Linked DNA regions of Homo sapiens: all the other regions are linked to region 3. Evidence: promoter capture Hi-C in 16 types of primary human blood cells and fetal thymus (Javierre and others, 2016). All regions are on one chromosome and are shown on one strand. Each heading gives the region's core, a stretch centred on a gene start or on the middle of the fragment in contact. The rest is flanking DNA. Distances are from core to core; before and after follow the strand shown. Region 1 has its middle 17 kb from the start of LINC01967. Region 2 has its middle 25 kb from the start of LINC01967. Region 3 holds the start of EOMES (eomesodermin). Region 4 overlaps NEK10 (NIMA related kinase 10). Region 5 has its middle 37 kb from the start of LINC01967. Region 6 overlaps LINC01967 (long intergenic non-protein coding RNA 1967). Region 7 overlaps NEK10 (NIMA related kinase 10).

The links. Contacts are between HindIII fragments. The CHiCAGO score rates a contact against its expected background, and 5 or more counts as called.
Region 1: a fragment that was not itself captured here is called in contact with the fragment with the promoter of EOMES in region 3 in 6 of 17 cell types (naive CD8 T cells, total CD8 T cells, total CD4 T cells and 3 more); the score reaches 9.3 in naive CD8 T cells.
Region 2: a contact is called between a fragment that was not itself captured here and the fragment with the promoter of EOMES in region 3, in 6 of 17 cell types (total CD8 T cells, naive CD8 T cells, non-activated CD4 T cells and 3 more). The highest score is 10.8, in total CD8 T cells.
Region 4: a contact is called between a fragment that was not itself captured here and the fragment with the promoter of EOMES in region 3, in 1 of 17 cell types (total CD8 T cells). The highest score is 5.5, in total CD8 T cells.
Region 5: a contact is called between a fragment that was not itself captured here and the fragment with the promoter of EOMES in region 3, in 6 of 17 cell types (activated CD4 T cells, total CD4 T cells, naive CD8 T cells and 3 more). The highest score is 11.6, in activated CD4 T cells.
Region 6: a fragment that was not itself captured here is called in contact with the fragment with the promoter of EOMES in region 3 in 6 of 17 cell types (naive CD8 T cells, activated CD4 T cells, non-activated CD4 T cells and 3 more); the score reaches 14.0 in naive CD8 T cells.
Region 7: a fragment that was not itself captured here is called in contact with the fragment with the promoter of EOMES in region 3 in 5 of 17 cell types (M1 macrophages, M0 macrophages, fetal thymus and 2 more); the score reaches 6.2 in M1 macrophages.

What each region holds. Positions count from the first base shown.
Region 1 is chr3:28,044,264-28,046,963 of GRCh38, reverse strand. No RefSeq gene overlaps it. Among named protein-coding and RNA genes, the nearest start is that of LINC01967, 17 kb to the right of the region's middle. The HindIII fragment of the contact is 5,132 bases long and covers 1-2,700 here.
Region 2 is chr3:28,001,768-28,004,467 of GRCh38, reverse strand. No RefSeq gene overlaps it. Among named protein-coding and RNA genes, the nearest start is that of LINC01967, 25 kb to the left of the region's middle. The HindIII fragment of the contact is 5,809 bases long and covers 1-2,700 here.
Region 3 is chr3:27,720,971-27,723,670 of GRCh38, reverse strand. It overlaps EOMES (eomesodermin), which reads left to right and starts at 1,348. Exons shown (of 6, transcript NM_001278182.2): 1 at 1,348-2,257. The coding sequence starts at 1,377. RefSeq lists a silencer at 1,713-1,922. The HindIII fragment of the contact is 2,734 bases long and covers 367-2,700 here.
Region 4 is chr3:27,354,069-27,356,768 of GRCh38, reverse strand. All of the region lies in intron 1 of NEK10 (NIMA related kinase 10), which reads left to right. Among named protein-coding and RNA genes, the nearest start is that of NEK10, 14 kb to the left of the region's middle. The HindIII fragment of the contact is 1,846 bases long and covers 373-2,218 here.
Region 5 is chr3:28,063,916-28,066,615 of GRCh38, reverse strand. No RefSeq gene overlaps it. Among named protein-coding and RNA genes, the nearest start is that of LINC01967, 37 kb to the right of the region's middle. The HindIII fragment of the contact is 4,860 bases long and covers 1-2,700 here.
Region 6 is chr3:28,021,493-28,024,192 of GRCh38, reverse strand. The region is part of intron 1 of LINC01967 (long intergenic non-protein coding RNA 1967); the gene reads left to right. Among named protein-coding and RNA genes, the nearest start is that of LINC01967, 5.8 kb to the left of the region's middle. The HindIII fragment of the contact is 8,805 bases long and covers 1-2,700 here.
Region 7 is chr3:27,329,612-27,332,311 of GRCh38, reverse strand. All of the region lies in intron 5 of NEK10 (NIMA related kinase 10), which reads left to right. Among named protein-coding and RNA genes, the nearest start is that of NEK10, 38 kb to the left of the region's middle. The HindIII fragment of the contact is 1,266 bases long and covers 700-1,965 here.

The sequences.
Region 1 (2,700 bases), core at 56-2,555, 320 kb before region 3:
GATGACTTTCTCCATTGTATTGCTCTTATAAATTTCATTGATTTCTACTCTTATTTTTCATATTCCTTTTCTTTTGCTCATGTCAGGTTTAATTTGTCCTTTTTTAGTTTCTTAAAGTGAAATCTTAGATCATTAATTTGTGAACTTTTTCCTAATATAAGAATAATATAAAGATTTTTATGTTACAAATTTCCCTCTAAGCACTGCTTTGGAAACTTTACATACATTTTATGTTATGTATTCATACTAGTTCAGTAAAAAATATTTTCTAATTTCTTTTTGACTTCCTCTGTGACTCACTGGTTATTTAGAAGTATGATGTTTAATTTCTGAATATTTGCAGAATTTCCACATATCTTTTTTTATTGATTTCTAAGTTAATTCTGTCCTGGGTAGACAAAATCTTTCGTATGATTTGATTATTTTAAAATTGTTAAGGTTTGTATTACGACTCAGAATATGGTCTATCTTGGTGAGTGTTTAATTTGCACATGGAAAGAATGTGGATTCTGCTGTTATTGGGTGGAGTGTTAGGTAAATATCAATTAGGTTAAGTATGTTGGTAGTGACGCTTGGGTCTTCTATACACTTGCTGATTCTCTCTTACATATTCTACCAATTGATGAGAGAGCAGCATTAAGCTCTCCAAGTACAATTGTAGATTTGCCTATTTTTCTTCTCAGCTCTAAAACATTTGCTTCATAAATTTAGAAACTCAGTTGTTAGGTGCATACACATTTAGGATTGTTATGTCTTCTTGGAAAACTGAATCCTTTATCATTATGGTCCTCTTTATCTCTGATAATATCTTCCTTTTGAAGTCGATGTTGTCTGATATTATTATAGCCGCTCCAGACTTCTTTTTATTAGTGTTGTTGCATATCTTTTTTCCCTCCTTTTATTTTCAACCTATTTAAGTCTTTATATCTAAAGTGTTTCTTGTAGATAGCATATGGATATTTTATGTTCTCATCCAATCTGATAATTTTCATATTTTAATTAGTACAGGTAAATGATTTAAGTTTAATATAATTATGAATAGGATTGTATTAAACTGTACTATTTTACTAGGTATTTTCCATTTGTTTCCTCTTCTGTCTTTTTTTTTTTTTTTACTTCTTTTTCTACTTAGTTTTGGATTAAGTTTTTTTATGATTCTAGTTTATCTCCACTGTTGGATTTTTATTTATGCCTCTTTTTAAAGTATTTTACTGGTTGTCTTAGGATTTGCAATATACATTTACTGGTACAAAAGCAGGCACATAGACCAATGGAACAGAATAAAGAACCCAGAATAAAGGCACTCACCTACAGCATCTGATCTTTGACAAAGTTGACAAAAATAAGCAATGGGGAAAGGACTCCCTATTTAGTAAGTGGTATTGGGATAGCTGGCTGGCTGCTACATGCAGAAGAATGAAACTAAATCCCCACCTTTCACCATATGTAAAACTTAACTCAAGATGGACAAAAGACTTAAATATAAGACCTCAAACTATAAGAATCCTAGAAGAAAACATCATTCTGGACATTGTCCTTGGGAAAGAATGCATGATTAAGTCCTCAAAAGCAATTGCAACAAAAACAAAAATTGACAAGTGAGACCTAATTAAACTAAAGCACTCTGTAAAGCAAAAGAAGCCATCAACAGAGTAAACAGAACCTACAGAATGAGAAAAAATATTTGCAACCTATACAATTGACAAAGATTTGATGTCCAGAATCTATCAGGAAGTTAAACAATGCAACAAGCAAAACACAAATAACTCCATAAAAAAATAGACAAAAGATATGAACAGACAATTCTCAAAAGAAGACATATAAGCGGCCAACAAGCATATGAAAAAATGCTCAGCAACACGAATCATCAGAGAAATGCAAATCAAAACCACAATGAAATATCATCTCACACGCGTCAGAATGGCTATTATTAAAAAATCAAAAAACAGATTCTGGTGAGGCTGCAGAGAAAAGGAGCTGCCTATGCACTGTCAGTGGAAATATAAATTAGTTCAGCCACTGCGGAAAACTGTTTGGAGATTTCTCAAAGAACTTAAAACTACTATTTGACCCAGCAACCCCATTACTGGATATGTATCAAAAAGAAAATAAATTGTTCTACCAAAAGACACATACTTATATGTTCATCACAGCACTACTAGTAATAGCAAAGACATGGAATCAACCTAGGTACTCATCAACGGTTTACTGTATAAGGAAGATGTGGTACATATACACAAATACCGCACAGCCATAAAAATGAATGGAACCATGTCCTTTGTAACAACATGGATACAGCTGGAGGTAATTATCCTAAGGAAATTAATGCAGGAACAGAAAAACAAATATTGCATGGTCTTGCTTTAAGTGGGATCTACATGCTAGGTACTTATGAACATAAAGATGGCAAAAATAGACATTGGGGACTTATAGGAAGGGGAAGGAGGGGAGGGACATAAGGGTTGAAAAACTAACTGTTGGGTATTATGCTCACTATCTGGGCGATGTGATCTTTAGAAGCCAACCCTCCGCATCATGCAATATACCCATGTAGCAAACCTGTACATGTACCTCATGAATCTAAAATAAAGGTTAAAGTCATTTAAAAATTTACTATGTATATATATAATTTTCGTGTCTATTTTTAAATAACAGAATATCACATAGTGTAAGGGTCTTACTTCCAACTCTTCTCTTCCT
Region 2 (2,700 bases), core at 31-2,530, 280 kb before region 3:
ATAGTCACCAAGTTTTGGCCAATCACAGGCAGTCAACTGTTCAAACCATCTTCAAATAAGGCAAACGCCAAGCTGTAACCAATCCAGCTATTTCTGTACCTTACTTCTATTTTCCATATGTTGCTTTCCTTTCTGTGTTCACAAATATTATCTGACCATGTGGCAGCCCTGGAGTCCTTTTGAACCTATTCTGGTTCCAGAGGCTGCACAACTTGTGAATCATTTTTTGCTCAATTAAACTCTGTTAAATTTAATTTTTCTGAAGTTTTCATTTTAACAGGGCAAAAGGCAAAGTGTTGGCAAGGCCAGTTTCTTCTGGAGATTCTGAGAAAAGAATCTGTTTTCTTGCTTTGTCCAACTTTTGGAGGCCCTCTACACTCCTCAGTTCATGACTCCTTCCTTCTCTTCAAAGCACATCATACCAGTCTCTGCTTCCATTGTCACATGGCCTTCTCTATCTCTAGCTCTACTGCTTCCCTCTACCAGGACCTTTGTGATTACATTGGGCTCACCTGGATCATTCAGGATCATCTCTTTATCTCAAGATCCTTAAATTACATATTTAAAGTCCCTTTTGCCATATAAAATACATATTCATAGGTCCCAGGAATGAGGACACAGACATTTTGGGGAGGCCCATTATTCAGCCTACCACACCCTTCTACTAAGGTGATTATATGTATTTTCTTATTTGAAAGTTGTTATGATTCAGTAAACTATATTGACAAATTTTTCTTCTTTTTTTTTTCTTTTTTTTTTGAGACAGAGTTTTGCTCTTTCACCCAGGCTGGAGTGCAGTGGCATGATCTCGGCTCACTGCAACCTCTGCCTTCCAGTTTCAAGCAATTCTCCTGCCTCAGCCTCCCGAGTAGCTGGGATTACAGGCACCCACCAGCACGCCTGGCTAATTTTTGTATTTTTAGTAGAGAGAGGGTTTCACCATATTGGCGAGGATGGTCTCAAACTCCTGACCTTGTGACCCGCCCACCTCAGCCTCCCAAAGTGCCAGGATTACAGACGTGAGCCACTGGGACTGGTGACAAATTTTTCCTATATTAAACCATCTTTGCATTCCTGGGATAGACTTTGGTTATGGCAGGTGTATTACTCAGAGTTCTCCAGAGAGACAGAACCAACAGAATACATATCCATAGATATAGAAGATGAGATTTCATATAGTTTGGATGTTGCCCCCTCTAAATCTCATGCTGAATTATAATCCCTAATGTTGAAGGTGGGGCCTGGTGGGAGGTGTTTGGGTTATGGCAGTAGATCCCTCATGGCTTGGTGCTGTCCTTAAGATAGTGAGTGAGTTCTTGTGATATCTGGTTGTTTAAAAGTATGTGGCATCTCCTCCGGAACTCTCTATCTTACTCCTTCTTTTGCAATGTGATATACTGACACCCCCTTTGCCTTCCACCATGAGTAAAAGCTCCCTGAGGTTCCCCAAGAGGCCTAGCAGATGTCAGCACCATGCTTCCTGTACAGCTTACAGAACCATGAGACAATTAAACCTTTTTTAAAAAATAAATTACCCAGTTTCTGGTATTCCTTTATAGCAACACAAGAATGGCTTAACACAAGATTTGTTAGGGCAATTGGCTCATGTGATTATGGAGGCTGAGAAGTCCAAATATAGGCCATCTGCATGTGAAAGAAACAGGGAAGTTGATAGTACGGCTTGGTCCAAGCCCAAAGGCTTCACAACCAGGGAAGCCAATAATGTAAGTCTCATTCTGAGGCTAACAGCCTGAGAACCTTGGGGGCCTGCTAGTGCAAGTCCTAGAGTCCAAAGGCCATAGAACCCGAAGTTCTGATGTCCAAGATTAGTTGAAGAAAAGTGTCCCAGCTGTAGAATACAGTGAATGAATTTGCCTTTCCTCTGCCTTTTTGTTCTATCTGAACCCTCAATGGGTTGGATAGTGCCTGCCCAGACTGGATAAGGGCAGATCTTTCTTACTCAGCCCATTGATTCAAATGCCAATCCCTTGCAGAAACATTTCCACAGACATACCCAGAAATAATGTTTTACAAGCTATGTGGCTATTCCTTAACCCAGTCAATTTGACACCTAAAAGGAACCATCAGAGTGAGTTAGTCTTTTTATATGCAACATTAATGCTTTTTTTATGGTATTATTATGGTTTATTCTATATTCATACCTGATATTAGTCAACTGTGTGTGTTTTGCTTACCTAGGTTTGGTAACTGAGTTAACCTGATATTGCAAATGGTCAGGTAATAAAAACTCAGCTCACATTAGCTGAAGTGAGAGGGAGTTTTCTTCACTTATATTGCTAGAAAAGATACTGGACTATCTGAGAAAACTGAAGGAAAAGTTGAAGGAATCAGGCCGCAGGGATTGCAAGTAGTAACCTGTGAACCCCAGAACTTTCTGTGAACCCCAGAACTTTCTCTGATTCTCTGTCTTTCTCTCCCTCCAGCTGTCACTTGTATTTTGTATTAGGATAGACAGGCTCTCTCTGTGTGACAGAAAACATGGCTAACAACAGACCAGCTGAAACAAATCCAGAGTAAAGAGGACCTTCTTTCCCAGCAATGAATGTGGGAGATGCCTCATCTAAGGTCATGTCCCTTCCCAGGGTGACCCATATCCAAAGACTGATTGATGTGGAAGTAAAATCTTTGAATTGTGTCATCCCAACTTAGGGCTGCTCTAGCCTCAGAGCTCCTGTAGGC
Region 3 (2,700 bases), core at 99-2,598:
ACTGATTATTTCACTAATTATTCTACCTTCTGTATTTGCCGCAGAGCAGAGGCGCAGGGAATCCTAACTGTGGGGCTGTTAGGGAAGCTTTGTTTCTTGGTGTCAGGCCTAACTGAAGATGGTGGTGAAGGGACGGAATCCGGGATCAGGAAAACTGAGCAGAAAGGATTTTAAATTGTGGGGAATAAAAGTGACTGTCTCCCCGAAAGCAGTTGTGTTGGCGTGAGTATGAAGTTGGTGTTAGCTCGCTTAGTTTCACTCTTGTCCTGTCCCCAGTACCCTGTCCAAGCTTCTGATTTAGAAGCTGAGAGCTTAGGTCCTCCAGGATGGCAATGTGCTCTGGCCGTCCCCGGAATCCCAAAAGCTTAGCGCGAGTTTCCTCTCTACAAACCTTTCCCACTGGGTAAAAGGATGGGAACAAACAAAAAGTGGTTCTGTGCGTTGAAGGCCAGGGAGTTTGCCTTCGACAAGAGGAAGGTGTGCTTTGAAGTTACAGCTTCCGACGAGGAAAGAGACTTCCTTGGGCCTGTCTCCAACTTGCCCCAGTTTCCCCAGCCTCCGGGACGGGCGCTTCCCTGCAAGCTATCAGCTTGAAGAGTCTTTCTCTCTCTGGCCTCTAAAATCTGCTCCAGCCATCTCATTCCTCCAGCGGAGGGCTGAGATGACTAATGCGCCAAGGGTGGACACCGCTATGGAGACCCCAAACTTTGTCCCCCTAAATTCCGGCGAAATTACAGACACCAGGATTGATTATCACAGCGGGACGCAGTCTCAAAAAAAAAAAAAAAAAAAAAAAAAAAAAAAGGAAAAGAAAGTCACAGGCGACTTGATCCAATTAGTAAATGCCTAATTGAATTAGTGTCACCTCCACCAGCCAATAGGAGGGTCTCCGGGCTGTGAGGCCGGGAAGCCCCTCCCTGGCCGCAAATATATAAAGCAGCTAGTGACAGCCCATAAGTTTCCAAGTGGTCAACTTGACCGATGCTTTGGCAATTGAAAAAGGGCAGAAAGGCGCGGGCTAGTGGGTGGATGGGGACAAAGATCTAAGTCACCTTCTTCCAGCGTGTGAGCCTGGGAGGAGGGTGGGGGTCCTGAGGAGCAAGAGGTACGAGGAAGGAAAAGGAGAGGGCTTCTGGGTTAGTTTCCACCTCCTGCTTTCCAACTCACGGCGCTTTCCTTCCGGAAAGGACGCTGGATTCAGGGCGCGCCAGTACGCGCAGTAGCGGCCCGCGAGTCGGCAGGTGGGTAGCCCCGGCGCGGGAGGAAGGGGAAGTTACCTTCCCCTCGGAAGAGGGCGCTGGCTCCCCCATCCTGCCTTTATAATAAGGCCACCGGAGGAGAGGAAGCAGCCAGCTGCCGTCTGCGCTTTGCAAAGCATGCAGTTAGGGGAGCAGCTCTTGGTGAGCTCAGTGAACCTGCCTGGCGCGCACTTCTACCCGCTGGAGAGTGCGCGAGGCGGCAGCGGCGGGAGCGCTGGCCACCTCCCCAGCGCGGCCCCCTCTCCTCAGAAGTTGGACTTAGACAAAGCGTCCAAGAAGTTTTCCGGCAGTCTCTCCTGCGAGGCGGTGAGCGGGGAGCCCGCAGCCGCCAGCGCAGGGGCCCCCGCGGCCATGCTTAGTGACACCGACGCCGGGGACGCATTTGCCAGCGCTGCGGCAGTGGCCAAGCCGGGGCCCCCGGACGGCCGCAAGGGCTCCCCCTGCGGGGAGGAGGAGCTGCCCTCCGCCGCTGCAGCCGCCGCCGCCGCCGCCGCCGCGGCTGCGGCCACTGCGCGCTACTCCATGGACAGCCTGAGCTCCGAGCGGTACTACCTCCAGTCCCCCGGTCCTCAGGGGTCGGAGCTGGCTGCGCCCTGCTCACTCTTCCCGTACCAGGCGGCGGCTGGGGCGCCCCACGGACCTGTGTACCCGGCTCCTAACGGGGCGCGCTACCCCTACGGCTCCATGCTGCCCCCCGGCGGCTTCCCCGCGGCTGTGTGCCCACCCGGGAGGGCGCAGTTCGGCCCAGGAGCCGGTGCGGGCAGTGGCGCGGGCGGTAGCAGCGGCGGGGGCGGCGGCCCGGGCACCTATCAGTACAGCCAGGGGGCTCCGCTCTACGGGCCGTACCCTGGAGCCGCAGCGGCGGGATCTTGCGGAGGACTGGGGGGCCTGGGGGTTCCAGGTTCTGGCTTCCGTGCCCACGTCTACCTGTGCAACCGGCCTCTGTGGCTCAAATTCCACCGCCACCAAACTGAGATGATCATTACGAAACAGGGCAGGTGAGCGCAGCGTGGAGGGGCCCCTGGGTTCGGGGATAAAGGGTGACGTGTGGTCCTGGGGAAGGTCCGGGATGAGGGAGCTGAACCCAGTTGTTCCGCGCGGTGCTTAGAGTGTTTCACCGCGCGCAATAAATCTCCGTAGACACCGCATCTCCAATGCGGTGTCCCTCTGTGTCAGTGCCCCGGCGGCTCTTGCAGGGTGCCAATGTTACGGCTGTACACCGCTTTTCCCTCCCATCATCCTCACCTGAACAGACCTGGAGGAGGCGGAAATGGAAATTAGGGCATGTCCACAAGCTGGATTCGTTAGATCCTCCTGCTCGGCGGTATGCTTGTGCATGCCTGCATGCCGGCAAGGAGCCACGGATAGGGAAGGCTCAAGAGCTGGCCACCTGAGCGCAGTAGATGGGCTCCCGCAGTTTTAGGCGCCAGGGTCTCCACGG
Region 4 (2,700 bases), core at 46-2,545, 370 kb after region 3:
AAGTATGAGTGTGTGGGGGTGAATATGTCACAGATACTCATCAGAGGAGACCCCACTTAGGAGAGCACATCTGACCTGAAACCCAAAGGATATGGAGAAGCCAGTGTGAGATTATGGGAAAAGAACAGCAAGCAGGCAGAAAGTGCTTAAGGCAAGAATATAGTTGGCATGTTCATGGGCACAAATGGTCTTAGTCTGTTTTGTGCTGCTATGATAGAATACTACAGACTGGGGTATTTATTTATTAGTTTATTTTTAAGAGACAGGATCTTGTGCCGTTGCTCAGGCTGGAACGCAGTAACACCATGAGGGCTCACTGCAGCCTCAACCTCCTGGGCTCAAGCAATCCTCTTGCCTCAGCTTCTTGAAGCTTGCACTACAGGTACACACCACCACACTTGGCTTATTTTTAAATTTTTTGTAGAGATGGAGTCTTGGTATGTTGCCCAGGGTGGTTTCAAACTCTTGACCTTCAAGTGATCCTCCCACTTCAGCCTCTGAAGGTGTTAGGAATACAGGTATGAGCCTTCATGCCTGGCAGACTAGGTAATTTATAAAGAACAGTTCTGGAGGCTGGGAAGTCCAAGATCAAGGTGCTAGTAGGCTTGGTGTCTGGTAAGTGCCCAGTCCCTGCTTCCAAGATGGAGGCTTGAATGCTGTTTTCTCTGGGAGTCACACTTTTTCTTACATGGCAGAAGAGCAAAGAGAGAGAACTCATTCCTGAAAGCCCTTTGTAAAATGCACTAAACCCACTCATGAGGACAGACTCTTGGCTCAATTATCTCTCAAAGGTCCTACCTTTTAATACTGTTTTAGTGGCAATTAAATTTCAACATGAATTTTGGAGAGGATAGACATTCAAACCATAGCATTTGGCATGTTCGTGGGTTCATGTTTCTCTCTAGAAAGCCAACATGGCTGAAGTGGAGGAAGCAAGAGGGAGAGGGGAGGAGGCAAGCTCAGAGCAGTGAAAGTCATGGTTGGAAGCCAAGTCCAATAGAAGGCCACAGGAAGGTTGTAAGCCACAGAGTGGTATGATCTGATTTACATTTTAAAGCATTCCCTGGGGTTCCTGAGGATGTAGAGGAGCAAGAGTGGAAGCAGAGAGACTCTTGAGGGGGTTGTGGCAGTCATCCAGGCAGAGAAGATGGTGGCTTGGAGTAGGGTGATAGTAGGAGTGGAAAGAAGGGAAAGCTAACTAGTTTTGCTGGTGGCTTGAATATGGGAGGTAGAGGAAAGAGAGGAGCCAAGAATGTCCCCTGAACTTTTGTCTAGAGAGCCATTGTGGTACCAGTTACCAAGATGAGGAGCACTAGGGGCATTTGTTACTAGGGGGTGGGGGTCAAGAGTTCTGTTTAGGGTATGTTAAATTTGGGATGCTCATTAGGCATCCATATAGTGACTTTGTGAATTTAGGAGGTCAGAATGGGGTTAGGGCTGAACATATAAATTTATAATTGCTGATGGTATGTAAAACCATGGGACTGCAAGAGATCCTTGGGAGAGGGGGCAGATAGAGAAGGGAGGAGGACCAAGGACTGAGCTGCTAGGACATGAGATCATAACAACATCTGGCGAGGTCAAGCAAAGAAAGAGGGAAATTCAACTCAGTAGTTGGAAGCTAATGCAGCAGGCGCTGCTTAGTTTGTATCCATAGCAAAGATCCTTTACCTTCATTACCCACAGCTCTTCCACATGGAGTCGTTGATTTTAGTGGATATATGTGGGCACTCTGCCCAGAGCCTCTCCCATTCCTTGGGACTGTGTGTCCTCGTATTGGCTTCAATGTTCTGCTTTAACAGCTAGATTCTGTATGTCTTTTTGAGAGGACTGCCTCTAAGTGACTTGGAGTCACTACCACAAGAGAGGAGTGCCTGGGGAGTTATGACTGAAGGCTACAGGAATATGAGAGCCAGGCTCTCACTTCTCTCAGTTTAGACAACTCTGAGGACTAATCTACACTGCAGCATTCCTCCATGGGCTTAGACCAAAGCTACCCTCTAGAGAGCTTTTGTGTTAGCACCCTTGCCTGACCTCTGTTGGGAATGCTTTCTTAATACATTGTCTGCCTTTGGGCAACTTAACATATGAACTGCCCTTCCTTCCCCCATCTCCCATTTTGTATTATAGTGTAGACATTAGTATAATGTAATCATTTTTGTTAATTTAAAATGGGATTAGGTTAACTATTTTAAAGCATTCCCAACTTCTCAAAGCTTTTTTTCAGAATATCTCCATTTAAGCAGCCATTAAATGGAAAGGATTTTGTTTTTTATCCTAAAGACAATTATCTGTTTCTGCTGATACTGGTGAATTTGTTTACTGTTTAGTTAAGTGCAACATTTCCAAAGAGTCATTTATATTCAGCCTTCCAGCTCACAGAGTACATGCTGATCTCAAACAGATATAACGATTAGATCATTATTTCCTGTTCACATACTTGTTCAATACAATTATGGAAATTAAGCAAGAGAATAAGACAGGGTGTTTAGCGAGTTTGATAGTGGTAAACGCGATCCCCTTCTAGCAGAAGAAGCCTGTGAGCTTCTCCATAGGCTCTCCTGTGCTTGTCATTGCGGCTTCTATTTTCTGCTTCTAAACTATAGTCTGTAGCTATAGTTTGAGCAGGAATTCGAAGCCAACAGCAGGACAGTGTGGCTATGTAGAGTATTTCTTCTGTATTTGAGGGAAGAGTAAAGT
Region 5 (2,700 bases), core at 46-2,545, 340 kb before region 3:
TTGAAAAGGAAAAAATGGTTATATTTACTAGATACCTTTGAAAGTCCTCACATCTGAGAATAAGTCTTACCTGTGTCACTTACTATATGCTAAATAATTATAACAATAATAATGGATAATTCATATATTGCCCATATTTGTATTTTAAGTGCTTTATATGTAAGTCTCACAATAACCCCTTGAGACAGGTACTTGAGCAACATAATTATTCTACCCATTCCCAGCTGATGACACTGTCTGTGTGGAGTTTGCACATCTGCTCCATGTCTGTGTGGGTTTTCTCTGGGTACTCCGGTTTCCTTTCACATCCCAAGTATGTGCACATTAGATAACGGGATGTCTCGGTTGCCCCTGCCTGAGTGGACATGGGTGTGTGCAAGTGTGCCCTGCAAGGGAATGCCATCCTGTCCAGAGTGGGGGTTCCTTCGTTGAGCCCTGCGCTGCTGGGATAGGCTCCACCTGCCTATGACCCTGAACTGAAATAATTGGGCAAATAATTATCTTATTCATTTTTATTAATCTTTCTTGAATGTATGTATATCTCACATTTATCTCAATGTTTAATATTAGAAGTGTTATCTAGATGATGGGTTAATGGGTACAGCAAACCACCATGGCACATGTATACCTATGTAACAAACCTGCACGTCCTGCACAAGCATCCTAGAACTTAAAGTAAAATAAAATAAAAAATATATATTAGAAGTGTTTTTATCTTTTTTATTAACCTTAAATCTGGGATACATGTGCAGCACGTGCAGGTTTGTTACACAGGTATACATGTGCCACGGTGGTTTTCTGCACCCATCAACCCATCATCTACATTAGGTATTTCTCCTAATGCTACCCCGCCCCTAGCCCCCCACCCCCGAGAGGCCACAGTGTGTGATGTTCCCCTCCCTGTGTCCATGTGTTCTCACTGTTCAACTACCACTTATGAGTGAGAACATGTGGCATTTGGTTTTCTATTCTTGTGTTAGTTTGCTGAGAATGATAGTTTCCAGCATCATCCACGTCCCTGCAAAGGACATGAACTCATCCTTTTTATGGCTGCATAGTATGCCATGGTGTATATGTGCCACATTTTCTTTATCCAGTCTATCATTGATGGGCATTTGGGTTGGTTCCAAGTCTTTGCTATTGTGAACAGTGCCACAATAAACATAAGTCTGCATGTGTCTTTATAGTAGAATGATTTATAATCCTTTGGGTATATATCCGGTGATGGAATTGCTAGGTCTAATGGTATTTCTGGTTCTAGATCCTTAAGGAATTGCCACCTGTCTTCCACAATGGTTGAACTAATTTACACTCCTACCAAAAACGTAAAAGCATTTCTATTTTATTTATTTATTTTTATTATTATAAGTTTTAGGGTACATGTGCACATTGTGCAGGTTAGTTACATATGTATACATGTGACATGCTGGTGAGCTGCACCCACTAACTTGTCATCTAGCATTAGGTATATCTCCCAATGCTATCCCTCCCCACTCCCCCCCACCTGACAACAGTCCCCAGAGTGTGATATTCCCCTTCCTGTATCCATGTGATCTCATTGTTCAATTCCCACCAATGAGTGAGAATATGTGGTGTTTGGTTTTTTGTTCTTGCGATAGTTTACTGAGAATGATGATTTCCAATTTCATCCATGTCCCTACAAAGGACATGAACTCATCATTTTTTATGGCTGCATAGTATTCCATGGTATATATGTGCCACATTTTCTTAATCCAGTCTATCATTGGTGGACATTTGGGTTAGTTCCAAGTCTTTGCTATTGTGAATAATGCCTCAATAAACATATGTGTGCATGTGTCTTTATAGAAGCATGATTTATAGTCCTTTGGGTATATACCCAGTAATGGGATGGCTGGGTCAAATGGTATTTCTAGTACTGGATCCCTGAGGAATCCAGTCGCCACACTGACTTCCACAATGGTTGAACTAGTTTACAGTCCCACCAACAGTGTAAAAGTGTTCCTATTTCTCCATATCCTCTCCAGCACCTGTTGTTTCCTGACTTTTTAATGATTGCCATTCTAACTGGTGTGAGATGGTATCTCATTGTGGTTTTGATTTGCATTTCTCTGATGGCCAGTGATGGTGAGCATTTTTTCATGTGTTTTTTGGCTGCATAAATGTCTTCTTTTGAGAAGTGTCTGTTCATGTCCTTCGCCCACTTTTTGATGGGGTTGTTTGTTTTTTTCTTGTGAATTTGTTTGAGTTCATTGTAGATTCTGGATATTAGCCCTTTGTCAGATGAGTAGGTTGCGAAACTTTTCTCCCATTTTGTAGGTTGCCTGTTCACTCTGATGGTAGTTTCTTTTGCTGTGCAGAAGCTCTTTAGTTTAATTAGATCCCATTTGTCAATTTTGTCTTTTGTTGCCATTGCTTTTGGTGTTTTAGACATGAAGTCCTTGCCCATGCCTATGTCCTGAATGGTAATGCCTAGGTTTTCTTCTAGGGTTTTTATGGTGTTAGGTCTAACATTTAAGTCTTTAATCCATCTTGAATTGATTTTTGTGTAAGGTGTAAGGAAGGGATCCAGTTTCAGCTTTCTACATATGGCTAGCCAGTTTTCCCAGCACCACTTATTAAATAGGGAATCCTTTCCCCATTGTTTGTTTTTCTCAGGTTTGTCAAAGATCAGATAGTTGTAGATATGCGGCATTATTTCTGAGGGCTCTGTTCTGTTCC
Region 6 (2,700 bases), core at 181-2,680, 300 kb before region 3:
GGCAAAATGCCACCAGTCACTCTGGTAAAACATAACAAGAGTCATCTTTGCTCCAGTCCCCAACAAGTTTCTCATCTCCATCTGAGACCACCTCAGCCTGTACCTTATTGTCCATATCACTATCAGTATTTTGGGCAAAGCCATTCAATAAGTCTCTAGAAAGTTCCAAACTTTCCCATATTTTCCTGGCTTCTTCTGAGCCTTCCAAACTGTTCCAACCTCTGTTTGTTACCCAGTTCAAAAGTTGCTTCCACATTTTGGGTTATCTTTTCAGTACTCTACTGGTACCAATTTATTGTATTAGTCTGTTTTCATGGTGCTGATAAAGACATACCCAAGACTGGGAAGAAAAAGAGGTTTAATTGGACTTACAGTTCCACATAGCTAGGGAGGCCTCAGAATCATGGCAGGAGGTGAAAGGCACTTCTTACATGGCAGCAGCAAGAGAAAATGAGAAAGATGCAAAAGTGGAAACCCCTGATAAACCCATCAGATCTCGAGACTTATTCACTACCATGAGAACAGTAAAGGGGGAAACCACCCCCATGATTCAAATTATCTCCCACCGGGTCCCTCCCACAACATGTGGGAATTATGGAAATATAATTCAAGATGAGATTTGGGTGGGGACACAGAGCCAAACCGTTATCAGTGGTCAAGAGGTACAAAGTTTCAGTTATGCAAGATAATAAAGCTCTGGAGATTCTGGAGATGTGATGTACAACAACGTGACACTATAGTTAACAATATTGTACTGTATATTTGAAATTTGCTAAGAAGGTAGATATTAAGTGGTCTCAACACACACACACACCAATATAACTATGTGAGGTGATGGATATGTTAATTAGCTTGATTGTGGTGAATATTTCACAATGTATACACATACCAATTCATCCAGTTGTATAATTTAAATATATACAATTTTTAACTGGCAGTTATACATCAGTGAAGTTGAAAAAAAGTGGTGAAGCAACAGGTATAAACAATGGCAGCTGAAGCCAAGACTATGCGTCTGAGTTGGTCTGAAGAAGAGGAAGTGGAGGCAATGCCATGAGTCATAAGAAGCAGGTCATTGATTTCCTTAGCAAATATTTATTGAGCACTTGCTAAGGTGCCACACACAGCTTCAGGTCTGGAGAAAAGACAGTAAAAAAAGTAGGCAGAGTCCCATCTCACGGAGCTGACATTCCTGGAGAGTGATTAAGGCAATGAAGAGGTAAACAAATACAGAAAATAATATTAGATTAATGACGAGGGCTATAAAGAAAACAAAGCAGGGAAAAATGATAGTGTGACCTCCAGGGGTGGGGCAGTGGTAGAGGGGCACTATGGATTGGTGTGGTCAGGGAAGGACTCTCTGAAGAGAGGAGATTTCAGCTGAGTCCTGAGTGACACAAAGAAATAAGCACAGGGAGGCTCAGTAGAAAGAACATTCCACACAGAAGGCCCAGCAAACACAAAGGCCCTGAAGAGGGGTGAGCATCGTGCACACTCAAAAGAAAGAAAGAGGGGCAGTGTGACTGGAACACAGAGAGCAAGAAGAGTGCTACAGAATGAAATAACAATGGTAGTAAGGGGAAAATCACCCAGGCTTCGTAGGTCAAAGCGAAGAAAACTCAGGGTCTTATCCTGAGTGAAATGGGAAGCTGTTGTAAGCAGGAAAGTGACATGAGGGGACTTATGTTTGAAGTAGATCATTTGATGAAGAACAGAGTGTAAGGAAGGCAAGAATGGAAGCAGGAGAACAGGGAGGCCACTGACACTTTAATGTCCAGGTGAGTGAGGAAGAGGTTGCACAAGGGCAGGGTAGTGGGGATAGAGAGAAGCAGAGGTTGGTGTATAGGGGGCACCTTTTAGCAGTTTGCTATGGGCAGGGCTCTCTAAGGAGGAAAGGGCTTTAGCAAATATTCAAATACCTGTTGCTTTTCACATTTTTTCCCCAAAGTTATTGAGGTATAGTTGACAGTTAAAAATTGTACATATTTAAGTTATACAACTGATGAATTGATATGTGTATCTGTTGTGAAATCTTCACCACAATCAAGCTAATTAACACATCTCCCACTTCACATAGTTACCTTTTGTGTATGTGTGTTGAGAATACTTAAGATCTACCTTCTTAGCAAACTTCAAGTATATAGTACAATATTGTTAACTACTGTCACATTGTTGTGTATTAGGTCTCCAGAACTTCATTATCTTGCACAACTGAATAGACCACAGGGAAAAAAATAAATAAATAAACCAATAAAAAGACTCAATTTCAATTTCTGTTGAGAAAGCAGTAGAGAAATGCTCACTCTCATGCATTACACAATGGTACAAACCCTGCAGAGGATAGGGCTTCCTGATGGATTAGATGTAGGAAGAGGATAGATACAAAAATAAAAAATGATGTCTAAACTTTTAGCTTGAGCAACTGGATGGTTTATGATGTTATTGACTGAGATGGAGAAGACCACACAAAGAACAGGTAAGAGAATAAATGGGTAAACAGGGGATCAATTCCAATCCAGTTAGTTTAAGTTCGATTTTAGATGTGTTATATTTGAGATCCCTATTACACAGTCAAGTGACCATACCAACAGGAAATTGTATATGCAGGTTTAGAGCACAAGGCTAGAGAAGTATATTTTGAACTCAGCAGATTAGCTACGGTATCAAAATCATGGCCTAAATGTCCTTCTACATGCTTGC
Region 7 (2,700 bases), core at 83-2,582, 390 kb after region 3:
TTTTTCAGAAAAAGTGTTCCAAAAATGTCAGCAGAGTTTATTCTTGCTTTGCTCTAGTTACCAGGGCAATGTTGCAGTATAACTTAAATTTTGTTAAACGTAAAATAAAATACATCTTGGTTTCATAATTTACTTTTTAAGATGTTGTTTCAATCTTTCCTCCTGCTCTTTAATATGAAATTTGGTATTATTTTGAAGTGGCTTTACTTAACTGGCCTCGTTCTGGTACTATCGTTCTAGAATAACCAGCATATGCCTCTTCCTTTGCCTGTAACTTTTGTGTAGGTAAACTTGTCCAAGGTACTCATTCTAGCTGGAATGAGTTGGAAGAAACCATTTAGTATGACCTTATTTGCAAAAAAATTAATTTACTTTTCTGAAAAGAATAAGTTAGTATCCTTATTATTTTATACCCCAGTTTCCTGAGATATCTGCTACAAATTTGAAGAATTTTGGAAATGAGTCTGTAGGAAGTCTAGGTGAGAAATGTTTCCACGATGTATAAGAGAAAACTTGTTGAATTAGGAGAAAACATCACAACGTTATTAGAAATTATCATAAAAAGTATTCTGAGAACATCATAGATACTTATAACCAAGAGGATTAATATAGTTATGTGTTTAGCTATCAGACAATTCGTTATCAATATCTGCTCCAGGACCTAGATCATGAAGCAAGTGACTCTTTTCCTTTCAAGCTTTACCTGGTCCTCAGCATTGACTATCCAGACTCCATCGCAGAGGGAGGTTAGATGAGAGGACCAGAAGTTAGGATGCAGGGACAATCTCTTCAGTGTTTTGAATAAGTTCTTGAAATAGATGAAGCTAATGAAGAGATGCTTTTTCTGTGAATTTATCTCTTCAGCCAGTACAGAGGCCAATAGAGACCTTTGAAGGTTCCTTATTGCCTAAGAAAGGAGAAGCCTGGTCACCTTGGTAAAGCCTGTCAGATAGTTCAGAACCTCCCTAGAGACAGATGTTCAAGTTAGCACCATAGACTGGGCACAGATAAAGTTTCATTAAGGCCTCAAAAGTCTTAGGTTTGTGTGTTTTTTTTTTTTGTTTTTTTTTTTTTGAGACAGAGTCTTACTTTATCACCCAGGCTGGAGTGCAGTGGCCTGATCTCAGCTCACTGCAACCTCCACTTCCCAAGTTTAAGCGATTCTCCCTGCCTCGGCCTCCCGAGTAGCTGGGATTACAGGTGCCTGCCACCACGATTGGCTAATTTTTGTATTTTTTAGTAGAGACAGGGTTTCGCCATGTTGGCCAGGCTGGTCTTGAACTCCTGACCTCAGGTGATCCGCCCACTTCGGCCTCCCAAAGTGCTGGGATTACAGGTGTGAGCCACTGCATCCAGCCAGGTTTGTGTCTTTAGGTACTAAAAAATGTTATAACGGCCTATTCCTTAGTTGGTTCACATAGTTCTTTGAGATCTTGTTCCTTCTTGGCCTCATCTCTTTATTCTGTCCAGTGTCTTTCCTGGACTCATTGAGGTCAGAGTGAAATTTCTGTTCCTATGAAAGTTATTCTTTTTGTCACCTCTGATCCTTTGACCGTGGTAGTCCTCTGCCTGAAGCACTCCGTCTCCACCTCTTTATAGTCTTTTATCCCCTGCTCGAGCCATTGACACTGGTTTTGTTAGGTGAACATTGAGGCTAAGATTGTTCATTTGGAATTTCTTTGCATTAAATTATTTTGATTGCTTTAAAAATTTTGGAAAACACAGAAAATTATAAAAACATGAAAACTTACTATTTATACCACCCTTAGAAACAGCTATATTAACTTTTGCTACATTTCCTTCTAATCTTTTAACAATTTTATGCTTTTTTCCTTCACTTATCTGATAGATTATTATGCACATACAAAACTACATTCTGCTTTTACCCAGAGTAGAACTTTTTAAACAGCTGGATCATTGTTTGAGAATGAAATTTGTCTTTTTTTCTCTCTTTTACTCAAAGCTTCACAACCTTAAACATAGACATGAAGCAAATAAGCTTTAACAACCTAAGATCTCATGTAGTCCTCAAGCAAATGATGATTTCCCTTCTTCCCATCACCTAACTTGGAGCAAATATCTAGCTCTTATATTATTATTTCTCATGCAATATTATCTAGGGTATTTTAGGTAAATGTGTACACACATGTACACACACACACAGGCACAGTCAGCCCTTGATATCCAAGGGTTCTGCATCATCAGATTCAACCAACTGCAGATTAAAAAATATTCAGGAAAAACAATAAAAAACACAACAATAAAAAGTACTTACATAGCATTTATGTCATATTAGGTATTATGAGTAATCTAAGATGATTTATAGTACATGTGAGAATATGTGTAGGTTCTGTGGATTTTGGTAACCGTGGGTGTCCTGGAACTCCTGAGGATACCAAGGGATGACTATATATACCAAAAAAGTCATGAAATTATAGAGGTAGAATGGACTCTGAAGAAAACCTTCTTAAGCCTCATTTGATAGATGTGGGAGATGAGCAGGTAAGGTCCAAGGTCCTGAGACAAAGCCATGGCTGGTACTCTTTTCTCTAATGCCTCACGGATTCCCTTGTTCTTTACTAATCAATGCACATTTAAAATTTGTTTTAGGTGTGCACCAGGGAAAAGTATCACTTTGGTAACCAGACTTACTGCTTCTTGTGTAGCTCATTCACTTGGCTGTCAATAGGCATGAAGTGA